5 separate regions of the Homo sapiens genome follow, and regions 1, 3, 4 and 5 are each linked to region 2. Evidence: promoter capture Hi-C in 16 types of primary human blood cells and fetal thymus (Javierre and others, 2016). All regions are on one chromosome and are shown on one strand. Each heading gives the region's core, a stretch centred on a gene start or on the middle of the fragment in contact. The rest is flanking DNA. Distances are from core to core; before and after follow the strand shown.

The links. Contacts are between HindIII fragments. The CHiCAGO score rates a contact against its expected background, and 5 or more counts as called.
Region 1: a contact is called between a fragment that was not itself captured here and the fragment with the promoter of GUCA1B in region 2, in 1 of 17 cell types (endothelial precursors). The highest score is 6.0, in endothelial precursors.
Region 3: a contact is called between a fragment that was not itself captured here and the fragment with the promoter of GUCA1B in region 2, in 2 of 17 cell types (naive CD8 T cells and naive CD4 T cells). The highest score is 5.8, in naive CD8 T cells.
Region 4: a contact is called between a fragment that was not itself captured here and the fragment with the promoter of GUCA1B in region 2, in 6 of 17 cell types (erythroblasts, megakaryocytes, endothelial precursors and 3 more). The highest score is 7.2, in erythroblasts.
Region 5: a contact is called between a fragment that was not itself captured here and the fragment with the promoter of GUCA1B in region 2, in 5 of 17 cell types (naive CD4 T cells, naive CD8 T cells, non-activated CD4 T cells and 2 more). The highest score is 7.9, in naive CD4 T cells.

The regions. Positions count from the first base shown.
Region 1 is chr6:42,535,929-42,538,628 of GRCh38, reverse strand. No RefSeq gene overlaps it. Among named protein-coding and RNA genes, the nearest start is that of UBR2, 27 kb to the left of the region's middle. The HindIII fragment of the contact is 2,051 bases long and covers 339-2,389 here.
Region 2 is chr6:42,193,547-42,196,246 of GRCh38, reverse strand. It overlaps GUCA1B (guanylate cyclase activator 1B), which reads left to right and starts at 1,291. Exons shown (of 4, transcript NM_002098.6): 1 at 1,291-1,633. The coding sequence starts at 1,427. The HindIII fragment of the contact is 7,472 bases long and covers 1-2,700 here.
Region 3 is chr6:41,869,799-41,872,498 of GRCh38, reverse strand. It overlaps USP49 (ubiquitin specific peptidase 49), which reads left to right. Exons shown (of 8, transcript NM_001286554.2): 3 at 862-935. Among named protein-coding and RNA genes, the nearest start is that of USP49, 24 kb to the left of the region's middle. The HindIII fragment of the contact is 2,220 bases long and covers 252-2,471 here.
Region 4 is chr6:41,790,579-41,793,278 of GRCh38, reverse strand. USP49 (ubiquitin specific peptidase 49) reads left to right here. Exons shown (of 8, transcript NM_001286554.2): 8 at 1-2,700. Among named protein-coding and RNA genes, the nearest start is that of TOMM6, 4.2 kb to the right of the region's middle. The HindIII fragment of the contact is 1,996 bases long and covers 387-2,382 here.
Region 5 is chr6:41,828,930-41,831,629 of GRCh38, reverse strand. The region is part of intron 3 of USP49 (ubiquitin specific peptidase 49); the gene reads left to right. Among named protein-coding and RNA genes, the nearest start is that of TOMM6, 43 kb to the right of the region's middle. The HindIII fragment of the contact is 3,275 bases long and covers 1-2,700 here.

The DNA of each region.
Region 1 (2,700 bases), core at 115-2,614, 340 kb before region 2:
AATCCATATTCATGAGAGAAATTTGCCTGCATTTTTTCTATTCAATGCTGTATTTTTTAGGTTTTAGTATCAGTGTCATATTGCTTTTGTAAAAAAATAATCTAAAAGCTTGCTTTCTCTCTTATACTTTGGAACAGTTTAACAGCATTGGAACTATCTGGTGAGTAATTTAAAAAATTAGTGTCCAGTACCTGAACAGACTGACCCTCTACCCTCCTTCAAATCAAATAATAGTTTATAGGGTGATGCCTACTTGTAAGTCAGCTCCGCAAGCTGTGGTCTCAGCAACTACAGAGGTAATATTAAATGAAAGACACAAAATTTACTTTCTCGAAGCTTCAGGCAGCCGGAAAAGGAGGAGAAGGGAAAGGAAAAGGAAGAGGAGGAAGTTAATTGTGTTGTTTGGACAAGAATGTAGTTCAACAGACTGTTTTTCTTCAGCCAACAACAAGACAAGCCTGATAAAAAAAGGACGAAGTAAAAGGAATTTCTGCTACTCCTTTCTCCAAAGCTCTCAGACTTGGCCTCACGATTCTGTAGTCTCCTCAAGAGTCCTGTAGAAGATTTCCCAGAGGAGATAGGTAAGGCTGTCTCTGGGCCACTGGAACAAGGTCTGGGGTTGCTGCTTGCTGACAAACAGCAAAGTGCTGTGTTGGTTTAGTGATTTGCTGATCCCTTTTCTTTGATGAAGATGGTGTTTGATTCATTGCATCAGCTTGATTTGGCTAACTCAAGACCTGGCTTTTCACAGTTTATCTACTACCTGGGGAAACACTGAGGTGGAAGGTTCTAGAAAAAGTTCAGTGTATTATAAATGAGAGACTTCTGATTATGTCTGCAAGTGGAAGTTGCTGCTGCCCAAGGCTTGATTTCACCATCAGACAGTGGCCAAATGGGATGACTCTTACAATTCTCCAAGTGTACAGTGAAATGGGGAGGTTTCGAAGATGCCTTCATATTTTAGATGGGCTTGGAGCTTAGACCACTTCCATATTCCCTTTTAACTGTCATAATTGATGAGGGAGTCAGTATAGCTCAAGTGACCAAGAGCATAGACTCTGGATTAGACAGATCTAGTGTGGATCCCATTTCTGCTCTAATTAGCTCCATCAAATTAATGAACCTCCCTGAGCCTCAGCTTATCTGGAAAATGAGGACAGTCATCGAACTTACCTCACTCAGAAGGCTGATGTGAAGATGAAGTGAGATATTGGGTAAAAGGCTCCTGACAGGATGTCAGGCCCATAAGTGAGGACCTATAAGTGATTGTTATTGTTGGTGTTACTATTATTCTATATGTCTTCTGGGACTGATGCTTCTGTCACTAAATAAGTGAATAAAGCTCCTGCTCATGGAGAGAGGCTGTTAAGGGTCAGGCCTGTCTGGGAGTTCGATAGCAGCTGGGGACTTGCCTAAACCGATCCACCCCATGGTTAGCAGGAAGATGCTGATCCCTTAGTCTCCTGTTCTCACTTCCACATCTTTTGTCTTAGGGGAAGTGGTAGGAACTTCTTGGATGTGCAAGCTCTGTCCTCTGAAAGTAGACCAGGGTCTTTATTCTGGTTGTGAGTGGAGAGTGAACTCCAAGTCAGAAAATCTTGTTACTTCTGATTAGTCATCAACAGAGCAAGGCCCCCTCGGGGGACTCACCTGCTCCCTGCACCATCGAACGTGCTCTGAGTATCACACCACCTCTCAACATCTTCTCCTGGACAACCCTGTGCTGCTCAGCTGCTCCTGCCCTCTGACACTAGCCTCCAGTTGGGTTCTCTCTCTGACTGGAATAGCCTGGACTGGTTGTGGATAAAGAAGTTTGCCCCCTCCTTCTCCCTCATTTTGCCCTCTTTGCAATGTCTTTCCTCTCTCTTCCTACCCCAGGGACCCCCTAGTCTTCACTTCCTTCAGTTACCCTGTGTTTTCCCATCCTCTTCCACACTTCTTCCCATTGCAATCACATTTTAAATCCTTTATTCAAAAGTTTAATAAATGAATCTAATTACTTAAAGTATGTGCTAAGCTCTCTTGCTTGTAGTAAATGGCTTTCTTTGGTTTATCTCAAATAATTCTCTTCCTCCAGTGGGAGGGTAGGTTACATAATTATTGTGAAGAACCCACATGGTAATTGGGGGAATCAGGGCACTGCCGGCACCAGAGTGGCTGCCCAGCTGGGCCTCATTGCAGCTACAGCATGGCTGGGGAACCAGAAGTGGGGCCCAGGATACAGAGCTCTGGGGACAGTAACGTGTCCCCCTCTCAGCAGGAGATTGTCTACCTTTTGACATGACTGTGACACAGCCTCCTTCTGCCTCTGATTCTCACACTTTTGCCACTACCAGCTCACCTCTAACCCTTCTTTTCTTTGCCTCATGGCTTCTGTTCTCTACAAGCTTCTACTTATCAAGAGTTCTGGTTCTCAATGGCTTCTATGACCTCATGGCACTGCCTCTTCTTTGGTGGACAGGAGTTTTTACAGTGGAGCCCCTCACGGGCTGCTGCTGGCTGGGCCACTCATTGGCTGACCCTGCATTGGTTTTCCACCCCTGATCCATTCGCCAGTGGACACAGAAGACCCATGGCTCTGGGCTGGGTGTGGTGGCTCACACCTGTAATCCCAGCACTTTGGGAGGCCAAGGTGGGCAGATCACCTGAGGTCGGGAGTTCAAGACCAGCCTGGCCAACATGGTGAAACCCTGTCTCTAC
Region 2 (2,700 bases), core at 42-2,541:
TGTGCACCTGTAATCCCAGCTGCTCGGGAGGCTGAGGCATGAGAATCACTTGAACCCGGAGGCGGAAGTTGCAGTGAGCCGAGATCACACCACTGCACTCCAGCCTGGGCGACAGAGCGAGACCCTGTCTCAAAAAATAGAAATTTAAAAAAAAAAAGCAAAGAAAAAGAAAAATGTGTGTCCCTGGTCTTTTGATTTCTTGGAGGTGTCATTTTTATGTTACATTAAAATAAGCATGAATATGTAATTGTTCAAAAGCAAATTTTACATGACCTATAATGTAAAAGTAAGAGCCTTCAAAGATATTTTAGGCCATGCTCCCAGATCCTTCTCACATGTTAGTATTTTGGAGGAAATGTGAAAAAGGCACTACCCCTAGGTCTTGTGTGAAGGGTTGGAGGGAGGCATTTGTAGTTTAAATCAGAAAGTGAAAAGCTCCCAAGATGAAAGGTGTAATCTGGAAAGGAGCTTCAGGGACCGAGTTAGCCTGGGAAGAGAGTTGCTCACCTAGAGCCCTTCCCATCATAGATTCTGCCTCTTTTCACTAGACCGTCTGAGGGGCGAGTCCCAGATCACCAGCAGATTCTGTTTTATGGCCTAGGACTTGATCTCACTTCCTCTCTGGATTTGAGTCTCCTGTCTCCAAGATGGGCCTCCCTGAAGCAATGTGAGGCCCAGCTAAAGAGATAGGGAGTGAGTGAGATGGGAGGATCCCAGCCTAGCACCCCGACTCTTTCTTCACTCTGCATCTCTCTGCTTACCTCTCAGTTTCTTCCCCTTCTACCTCTTCAGAGTCTACCAGGGCCAGCTTGGTTGCTTTGTTGACAAGGCTAAGGGAAGGAGTGAGGCTGGAGGAGTTTAGGCTGGAGGTCAGAACTTCCTGGGGAATCTCTTTTTTTTTTTTTTTTTTTTTTTTTGAGACAGAGTCTCACTCTGTCCCCCAGGCTGGAGTGCAGTGGTGTGATCGCAGCTCACTGCAACCTCTATCTCCCAGGTTCAAGTGATTCTCCTGCCTCAGCCTCCTGAATAGCTGGGATTACAGGTACCCACCACCATGCCCAGCTAATTTTTTGTATTTTTAGTAGAGACAGGATTTCACCATGTTGGCCAGGCTGGTCTCGAACTCCTGACCTTGTGATCCACCCACCTCGGCCTCCCAAAGTGCTGGGATTACAGGCATGAGCCACCGCACCCGGCCACCTGGGGAATCTTCTAATAGTCTTAGGGCAGCTTAGCTGGCCTGGACCCACCTCCCTTGCCACCTGCCCCCTGCACCGACTGATCATGTTCAGTCACCCAGGAGATGATGGAGAGGCTGATCAGGCCTCCTGGAAAGGGAGGAAGAGGGCCCTAGTTGGAGAGATCCATCAGCAGAAGCCAGGGAGGAGATACAGACCCTTGCTCCCTGATGCTCCTCAGGGCTAGCATGGGGCAGGAGTTTAGCTGGGAGGAGGCGGAGGCAGCTGGCGAGATAGATGTGGCGGAGCTCCAGGAGTGGTACAAGAAGTTTGTGATGGAGTGCCCCAGCGGCACACTCTTTATGCATGAGTTTAAGCGCTTCTTCAAGGTCACAGACGATGAGGAGGCCTCCCAGTATGTAGAGGGCATGTTCCGAGCCTTCGACAAGAATGGGGTAAGGCACCCTGAAGGGAAGGACCAGTGGCCAGTCCACCTGGCGCCTTCCTCCACAAGTGTCCTCAGGGAGAGCTCCCAGTTCCCCACTCCTCGGCTCTTTCTCTGCTCTTCTTTCCACTCCGTCTCTCTTTACCTTTTCTGTCTCACTCACCAAACCCTTCTGTCTCTTCTCTTCCTTTTGTCCCTTTCCATCTTCTCTGTCTCTCCTTCCCTCCCTCCATCTCTTAGCTGTCGGCTGATGCTCCCTGTGTCCTCTTCTTGAGAGCTGAAGGGCGACTGGCAGACAGTCCAGGTCCTCTCTTTGTGTATTTTTGACCAAGACTCTGCAGCCCAATGACCGGGTTTTCGCATCTGCCAGAGCCCCTGTCACTCTAAACACTAGGAGCAAAAGAGATGTTCTAAATGAGACAAGGTATCTTAGCATGGGCTATGAGCTCCCTCTTGTTGGGGTTCTTCTGAGACTGGTCAGATCCTCCCTGTCAAGAATGCTGGAAGAGGCTCCTGCATGTATTGGGAGACTGGGCGAATGACTGCAAAAGCCCCTTTCAGCTCTTCAAGTCCTGGAAGGTTTCATTAAATCATTCAGACTAGAGTTTCTCTAAGCCCACAATGTCACTAGCAGCTAAGAAGATAACACATCTTGTAAATGCACCAGGGGATTGAATTTTAAATTTCAATTCAGTTAAAAACCCCTTGATTATTTAAGGTTATCCAGTTCAGTGCCCTGGCAATCCTCAAATACCTCAAATACCTCAAATGCCCTGGTATTTGCCTCAAATACCAATTTAATCTGAAGAAAGTGTCAGTTCTCCATTCCTCAGTGCGTGGAGAACTTAGCTTTCTAAGCTGAATCACTGGGAATGCCACTTCAGGTCTCATCCTGTCGCTGGTACCAGTCAGTGCACGTCCCCACAGTGCCTGTCCCGGGACAGGAGGGTGAGGTCAGCACCTTCAATTCAACAGAACCTCCTTAGAGATGAACCCCATCGACCACCCCACAGGGCACAGAGCCAGTTTCGGACTTCTCAGCGCTCCGCCTCTCTTAGGTCTCCTCTGAATCAGCAG
Region 3 (2,700 bases), core at 112-2,611, 320 kb after region 2:
AACACACAAGGCTGTCACTTCATACTTGGATGGTTGCACAGCAGTCGCGCAGAGGCACTCCTCACTTCCCAGACGGGGCGGCGGCCAGGCAGAGGGGCTCCTTACTTCCCAGATGGGGCGGCGGACGCCCGGCCGGGAACATATTTTCTTAAAGTTTCTTCGAAGAGGAACTCTGTGTTAGCTGTTAGGATGACACAATAGAGAATTTTCTTTCCTCTTACAGTGGTGGCCCAGCTTGCCGATCTCAAGCTTAATACTGAGTCCTACTTCCTGATAATGTGTCAGAAACCTTAAACATGCTTATACATATAATTTGTCAAAATCATAAACTCTAGATGTCTTTGGCTAATATATTGTCCTTGTGTACAGAATATATACCGCTTTTAAAGAAGCATGCCGCTTACATATAGGTCATAAACCCACTTAGCACAAAAGAGTCACCACCTCATGCCATCTTGTTATATATTTTGCTTACGCAAAAATAATTTTAGCTTTTGATATTCGAGTATTTTTGTTACCATGAATTTGTGTGTTTTTTCCTGAGTTTCAGATTGTATGCAAATATAATGTGTAATTTTTAAGACCTAAAACAAATGCAGAAGTGCTTTTTTTCAGGAAGTAAACCTTTAATACTTCCATTTGTAGATCAGTCTACCCATAAGTGACTGACTCTTTGGTTACTCTTAGCTGAAAAGAAAGATCACAGTTTTTTTTTTACTCTTACATCAGTTTTAAGGACTTGTAGGGAGTTTAATGCATTGTAATTTACTGGTCCTTTTTTGAATTTGTATTACAATTAATGAAATTGCTTTTTTCTTGCCATGTATTAGCCCAATCTTACAGATTGTTTCCCACTTGTAGGTAATAGAGAAGAGGAAACCTAACCAATGACTGTGGAATAATATGGAAGAAGATGGAAAAAACTTGTTTAATGGGTAAGAAATAAAAACTGTAATAAAACATTATTAATGAAAGCTATTTATAATAATAGTATTATGTGTGGCTGAGGTTGGCATACTATGAGGGTAATTGATCAGTTACTGTTTTGTCTAACTCCATTCTGAACTTTCACCGCTTGCTTTCATCTTAACCTTGTGAATTTTTTAGTACCACGAATTAACTTAAGCTAAGAGGGGACACAGCCATATTTGAAGTTAAAATGGGACCTAAAGACCAGCAACCATACTGAAACAAGTCTAGGGTAGGTCTTGAAACTTGGTGGTAAGATAGAGATCGTATCTGTCATGACCTGTCAAGAGTAATTATCTACCCCTTCTTTTTCTCCAAATATGTCAGTTGCTATGATGTTTGTCCCACCACGAGGATCCCGTTCATTTGAGCAAGTGCAGATGTGTGTCTGGTGGTAATCAAATAGAATTCTGCTTTGGGAGGTTGAGGTGGGAGGATGGCTTGAGGCCCGGAATTCTTTTATTTATTTATTTAGTTTTGAGATGGAGTCTTGCTCTGTTGCCCAGGCTGGAGTGCAGTGGTGTGATCGTGGCTCACTGCAACCTCTGCCTCCCGGGTGCAAGCAATTCTCTTGCCTCAGCCTCCCAACTAGCTGGAACTACAGGCACCCGCCACGACACCTGGCTAATTTTTGTATTTTTGTAGAAACGGGGTTTCATTATGTTGGCCAGGCTGGTCTCAAACTCCTGACCTCAAGTGATCTGCCCACCTTGTGCTGGGATATGCCTCCCAAAGTGCTGGGATTACAGGCGTGAGCCACTGTGCCTGGCTGAGACCAGGAATTCTAGCCAGCCTGGGCAATATAGCAAGACCTCATCTCTACCAAAAAAAAAAAAAAAAATTAGCCAGGTGTGGTGGCTAGCTACTCGGGAGGCTAAGGTGACAGGATTGCTTGAGCCCAGGAGATTGAGGCTGTAGTGAGCTATAATCATTCCACTGCACTCCAGCCTGGGCAACAGAGCAAGACCTTCTTAAAAAATAGAATTCTACAGAAAGCTCAGTAAAAGGTTTGACTTTAAGTTTATGAGATATAAAAGTTTTTTTAATTATGCAAGTTTATACATTCATGTCAATAATTTAAAAATAACAGATAACTACAATCCTCTACCTGAATCTTACCCTCCTCCCAGAGTCTATAAGTATATGGCATGTATTTGTGCAACCTTCTTTGCCTAGTGGTTAAAAACATGGATTTGGAGCCAGACCGTTTTTAACCAGTCACTATTAACTTGACATTTGGACATGTTATCTCTGTGCCTCAATTCCTTGGATATAAGGTGAGGACAATAAAATGCTATCTCTTAGCAATTGATTAGTTAATCCATATAAAAAACTTGAAATAATGTCTGGAATGAAGTAAGTGTTTAGTAAATGTTAACTATAATTCTCATATGTATCCCAGTTAGCCTTTTTATGTGCCAGCCATCCACACATAAATTTTTCTCTGATACATTCCAAGAGTTAAACCATCTCAGATACGGTTAACCATGGTGGCAAAAGCTTTTTAGTTTTTTTCATGAGAAGTTTTCTTTTGACTTCATCTCTGAGTATGCTGCTAGACTATGTGTGAGGATAAAGTTCTATATCTTTACCTTTTACTGTATATCTTAGGGTGTATATGATGTTTATAGTTATATATGAATAAACAACTATCTTCAGCCTAACATAGGTTCATCTTGCCTGTAAAAGTATCTTGTAAAGCAGGCTACACAATTCTTTTGTTTCTAGATA
Region 4 (2,700 bases), core at 135-2,634, 400 kb after region 2:
AAAAAAAAACAAAAACAAAAACAAAAAAAAAAAAAGAATTTCCAGATGTCTCTTAAAATGTCATGAATAAAATTGGAAACTGTAGAAGTGTTAATGTGTCCTATGGACTCAATAGCAGAGTTTATTTTTGTTTTTAATGGCAAGGCTTCTAGAGTCAATGATTGTATGAGTTTGCTACTCTGGCTGTGCTTACAGCTTCATCCAAGTACAAGGGAAGAACCAATGAGGTGGATTGGCTGACAGTGGGGCATGCCCCAGCATAAGCCCTAGAGAGGTCGACAGTAGTGCAGAATGAAAACTTGGTCGGGGATGGCGGGTGGTGGGTGGGAGGAGGGTGGGCTGGCCGGGAGGGAGAAATGGAGTTTGTTCTACTTACTGATAAAGCTTTGTGAACTAATTTTATACAATTCATAAAATTTGGTGCCTTGTACTCAATTACGGTTTGCATGGAATTGAAAAGATTAAGGGAAAGGATTTCTTCTTGTCATTTCAAGTGGCAAATGGGTCTGTGTAGTGTTTAAAGGACATCTGGTATCACAGACTTTTAAAAAGCATTTCATGTCTCTTGTGTGTGAATGCAAATTATTCTTACCAGCAAGTTCTGAAATTATGTTACAATGTCCAAATTCTTTGTATTTGTGACTGTTCATCAAATGGCTGCTTTTCAAGGCAGACTGTGTACTCCATTGTTTTTCACTTCCCTTGTCATGTTCCATACATTGACTTGGGCCTTTTTAAATCAGGCTGGGGGGCTACCCCTTCTTAAATGAATACTATATCCCTATCTGAGGTTACCTCTTGTGAGTGGAAGGGTTGCTTTCCCAGGTGGTTGGGAGAGCACAAATGTTGAGAAAAGGCCTTTTAGTCTTTATCAAAACAATGACTAATGCTGGGCAACATATAGCAGAAGTCAAACAAAAATGATTCCTCCTGAAATGGTACCTTCATTGGTTCTGATGTTCTTTTGCAAAAAATGTCCGGAAGCAGTATAGAAAACCCCCTGTATGTGAACCTTAGATTGTAAGGCAAGCCAGTGCACTGTGTAATATGCAAAGGGAGTGGTGCAAAAGAGAAGGCACCCGTCCCAGCTCTCCATGCCCTTTCCCTGGCAGGCGCTGACTGAGATGGCGCTGAGTGAATGTGGAAGGTGCTAAGACCCAGTCTCTTCACTGCAGGGCTGTTTACAGCCAGTTTCTTTTACTCTGACCTTAAGGTTTCCACTGAGCTCATGAAACTTCAACATATGGTGTTTAAAAGTTTCCCACTCAAATGCACACTTGAAAATTGGGTCCCTCAGCCTCATTACTGAACTAAATAAGTGAAGAAGTTGTATCTTTGGGGTAAAACTTTCCAGGGCCACTTAATTTTTTAACCAGTTAAGTACGCATCTTCCTGGTGGTTCAGACTTTTTAAGTCAGTGCTAAAGCTGAAAAGCGCCTTCTAAATATGACTGTGAGTTTAGTTTGTATCTTACATTTAGTAACTGTTCTGTTGGGCCAGGACTATGACTTTAATTACTATGTACTTATTCATCCCACACTCTGCACTAAATACACCATAGCTACTATAGCATTGTGGCAGGCACTCATTTTTGTGGACTCATTCCATACTTCTGCTGGCATATTTCGTTTAAAATCTAGCTAAAGATTTTCATAGTACTGTGTTAACTAGCCAGGGCTGAAAAGTGTGACAGGATATCAAATTGACTTTCCTTGGGGAAAATGTTGCTTTGGCAATAGTGAAGTCCAACTCCTTCATTTACAGAATTAGTGATTACTCATCAATTTTTGAAAGTTGTAGATTAAGTAGTTTTATTTACTAAATTCTTAACCACTTTGAAGATTTAAGCCAGTTGAAATGAAACATTGGCTGGATGCAGTTGGCTAGCACCTGTAATCCCAACACTTTGGGAGGCCAAGGTGGGAGGATTGCTTGAGGCCAGGAGCTCAAGACCAGCCTGGGAAACATAGATTTGAAATCTTTTCAAAAATGTATAAAAATTTAATAAATAAATAAATGAATCCTTACTCAACCATAATTATGGCTTTAAAACCCAACCAACAGTAAACACTTACTTGAAGCCAAAACAGTAAATTTTGAATGAAATTTGAATTATGCTTTTGGAAGCTGCCATGTCTTAATTCTTGCTGGATTTTGATTTTCAATTTTGGAAGTTTTTATCAAAACTGTCCAGTCATGAGTATATCAGGTAGCAGCCTTTAAGGATCTAAGTTTCATTCCTATAAAGAACAGGAGGTGCTGGTATTTCTTGTCTTAGCAAGTGATCTGATGCAGGTCTAAATGGGGGTTAGCATCTATACTATGGCTTAAAAGTTTCCTCCTTGGTCACCATTTGGGAGGTGATGGCTTCAAAGCTAAGCTTTGCTCTCATGTGACCCTTCTTTATCTTAATACCCAATAAGATATAAACCTCTCAGAGTCAACCCAGTGTAGACTCAAAGGGTCTTAGCTTCATCTATCAGATAAGATCTATCTGATTTATACAAAGAATGGTGCTGTTTTTATATACATACTAAAAAAATCTAATTCTCAAACAATTTTCTTAATATTTATGCCAGCAAGGTCAGGAAAGACTATTTTGTCCTGTTTAACTTTAGTAGTGAACAAACTGCTAGAGACATCTGTCATCCTTAACAGGCCACTGTGGTCCTTATATACTGACCCTCCTTTCCAATTAAC
Region 5 (2,700 bases), core at 199-2,698, 360 kb after region 2:
ATTAGTTTATTTCAAAAATGGTAGCTCTACTTTTTTTTTTTTTTTTTTTGAGATGGAGTTTTGCTCTTGTTGCCCAAGCTGGAGTGCAATGTTACGGTCTCGGCTCACTGCAACCTCTGCCTCCTGGGTTCAAGCAATTCTCCTGCTTCAGACTCCCGAGTAGCTGGGATTACAGGTGCGCACCACCACGCCCAGCTAATTTTTTGTATTTTTATTTATTTTTATTTTTATTTCTGTTTTGAGATGGAGTCTCGCTCTGTTGCCCAGGCTGGAGTGCAGCGGCACAATCTCGGCTCACTGCAACCTCCACCCCCTGGGTTCAAGCGATTCTCCTGCCTCAGCCTCCTGAGTAGCTGGGGTTACAGGTGCATGCCACCACGCCCGGCTAATTTTTGTATTTTTAGTAGAGACGGGGTTTCACCATGTTGGTTAGGCTGGTCTTAAACTCCTGACTTCGTGATCTGCCCGCCTCAGCCTCCCAAAGTGCTGGTATTACAGGCGTGAGCCACTGCGCCTGGCAATTTTTTGTATTTTTAGTAGAAACGGGGTTTCACCATGTTAGCCAGGCTGGTCTTGAACTCCTGACCTCAGGTGATCTGCCCACCTCTGCCTCCCAAAGTGCTGGGATTACAGGCATGAGTCACCAATCCCAGTCGATAGCTCTACCTTTTATAGTGACAATGCAGGTTATCTTGTGTGGAGGTTCCTATCAATCAGCCTGTACAGGTAGCACCAGTGTATAACAATCTCTTGGCCAGTCAGCACTGGTGCTTCGTGCTGCTTTCCTAAATTTTTTTTTTTTCTCTTGAGACGGAGTCTTGCTCTGTTGCCCAGGCTGGAGTGCAGTGGTGCGATCTTGGCTCACTGCAACCGCCACCTCCCAGGTTCAAGTGATTCTCTTGCTTCAGCCTCCTGAGTGGGATTACAGGTATGCACCACCATGCCCAGCTAATTTTTGTATTTTTAGTACAGATGGGGTTTCACCATGTTGGCCAGGCTGGTCTCGAACTGGTTAACCTCAGGTGATCCACTGGCTTGGCCTTCCAAAGTACTGAGATTACAGGTGTGAGCCACCACGCCTGGCCTGCTTTCCTAAATTTGAATTGGTTGCAAATCTGTTTTGTTTGCTCCATCATTGTCTGTCATTAACATACTATTTATTTATTTTCAAAAGTATAAACTTATATGGAATTTCTGTAGGGGTTAAAGTAGACACTAGGTTACCAAGGCATAATTTCCCAAGACTTGGAGACCTGTGATCACTGGGAGGATTTTTGGATCTTCATCTGAACTTAGCTATATTAAACATTGAAACAATCCTACAAAATGCCTAGATGAGACAGGTTTACAGGTAAGTTTTATCAGACCTTCATGGAACAGATAAACCATAGAAGAATTAAACTGTTTTAGAGAAGAGATAAAGTGGGAAAGCTGCTATCTCAGGTTTTGAGGTTAGTATAATCTTGGTACAAAACAGGGAAGGTCAGTATATTATAAGAAAATGAAAGGCTAATCTTCTAAAAATGGATTTGAAACATCTAAACAGTACTAGCAAATTGAATGTATTATTGTATTAAAAAACAAAACATCAAGACCAAATAGTTTGTTTAAATTATTATATGCAAGGATGGTTTCATATCAGAAAATACATCACTGATATCATCCAACATATTAATTTTTAAAAGGGGAAGTTCTTCTTATTTTCTTAATAGGTTCAGAAGAAAACATTATATGAACTTTAATATTTAGTCTGATTAAATTTTTTTCACAAAGCTAGAAATAAAAAACTTTCTTAACCTAAAGTTAACCAAAACTTCCTTTGGTAGACATCACACTTAACAGTAAAACTACAGACCTGTTCCCTCTCAAGTTAAGAACAGTACATGGTGCCCACTATCAGCCTTAATATTTACTAATCAACTGAACTTCCTGGTTAATTCCAGAAGACAAGAAAGAGAGGACCAAGCTGTCTATATTTGAAGACTATGTAGACATCCATAGAAAATTCAAGAGAATCCGCCAGGCGCGGTGGCTCACGCCTGTAATCTCAGCACTTTGGAAGGCTGAGGTGGGCAGATCACCTGAGGTCAGGAGTTCAAGACCAGCCTGACCAACATGGAGAAACCCCATCTCTACTAAAAATACAAAATTAGCCGGGCATTGTGTTGCATGCCTGTAATCCCAGCTACTTGGGAGGCTGAAGCAGGAGAATCGCTTGAACCCGGGAGGCGAGGTTGCAGTGAGCCAAGATCGTGCCATTGCACTCCAGCCTGGGCAACAAGCGCGAAACACCATCTTAAAAAAAAAAAAAAATTCAAGAGAATCCACAAATTATTAGAACTAATAATAATAGTTCTGCAAAGTTGCTGAGTTTCAGATCAGCAACCTTTTGATTCAACCATACAAAATTATAATTTATGTAGGTCAAAATGGTCGTTAAATATTTATTTGCAGTTTCATATGATTAAACCTAATACAGAAATCAATCACATTCCTGTCTACCAGCAATAATCATTTAGTAAATGTATACTTTTTTAAAGATTCTATTCATAGTAGCCACAAAAAAACTATAAAGTATCCAGGAAATATCTAAACAAGAAATATATATCTTGGGGAGAAAACATAATCAAAAGACCTGGATAAACAGAGAGATAGCATGTTCATGGATGGGAGGACTTCATATAATAAAGAGGTAATTTT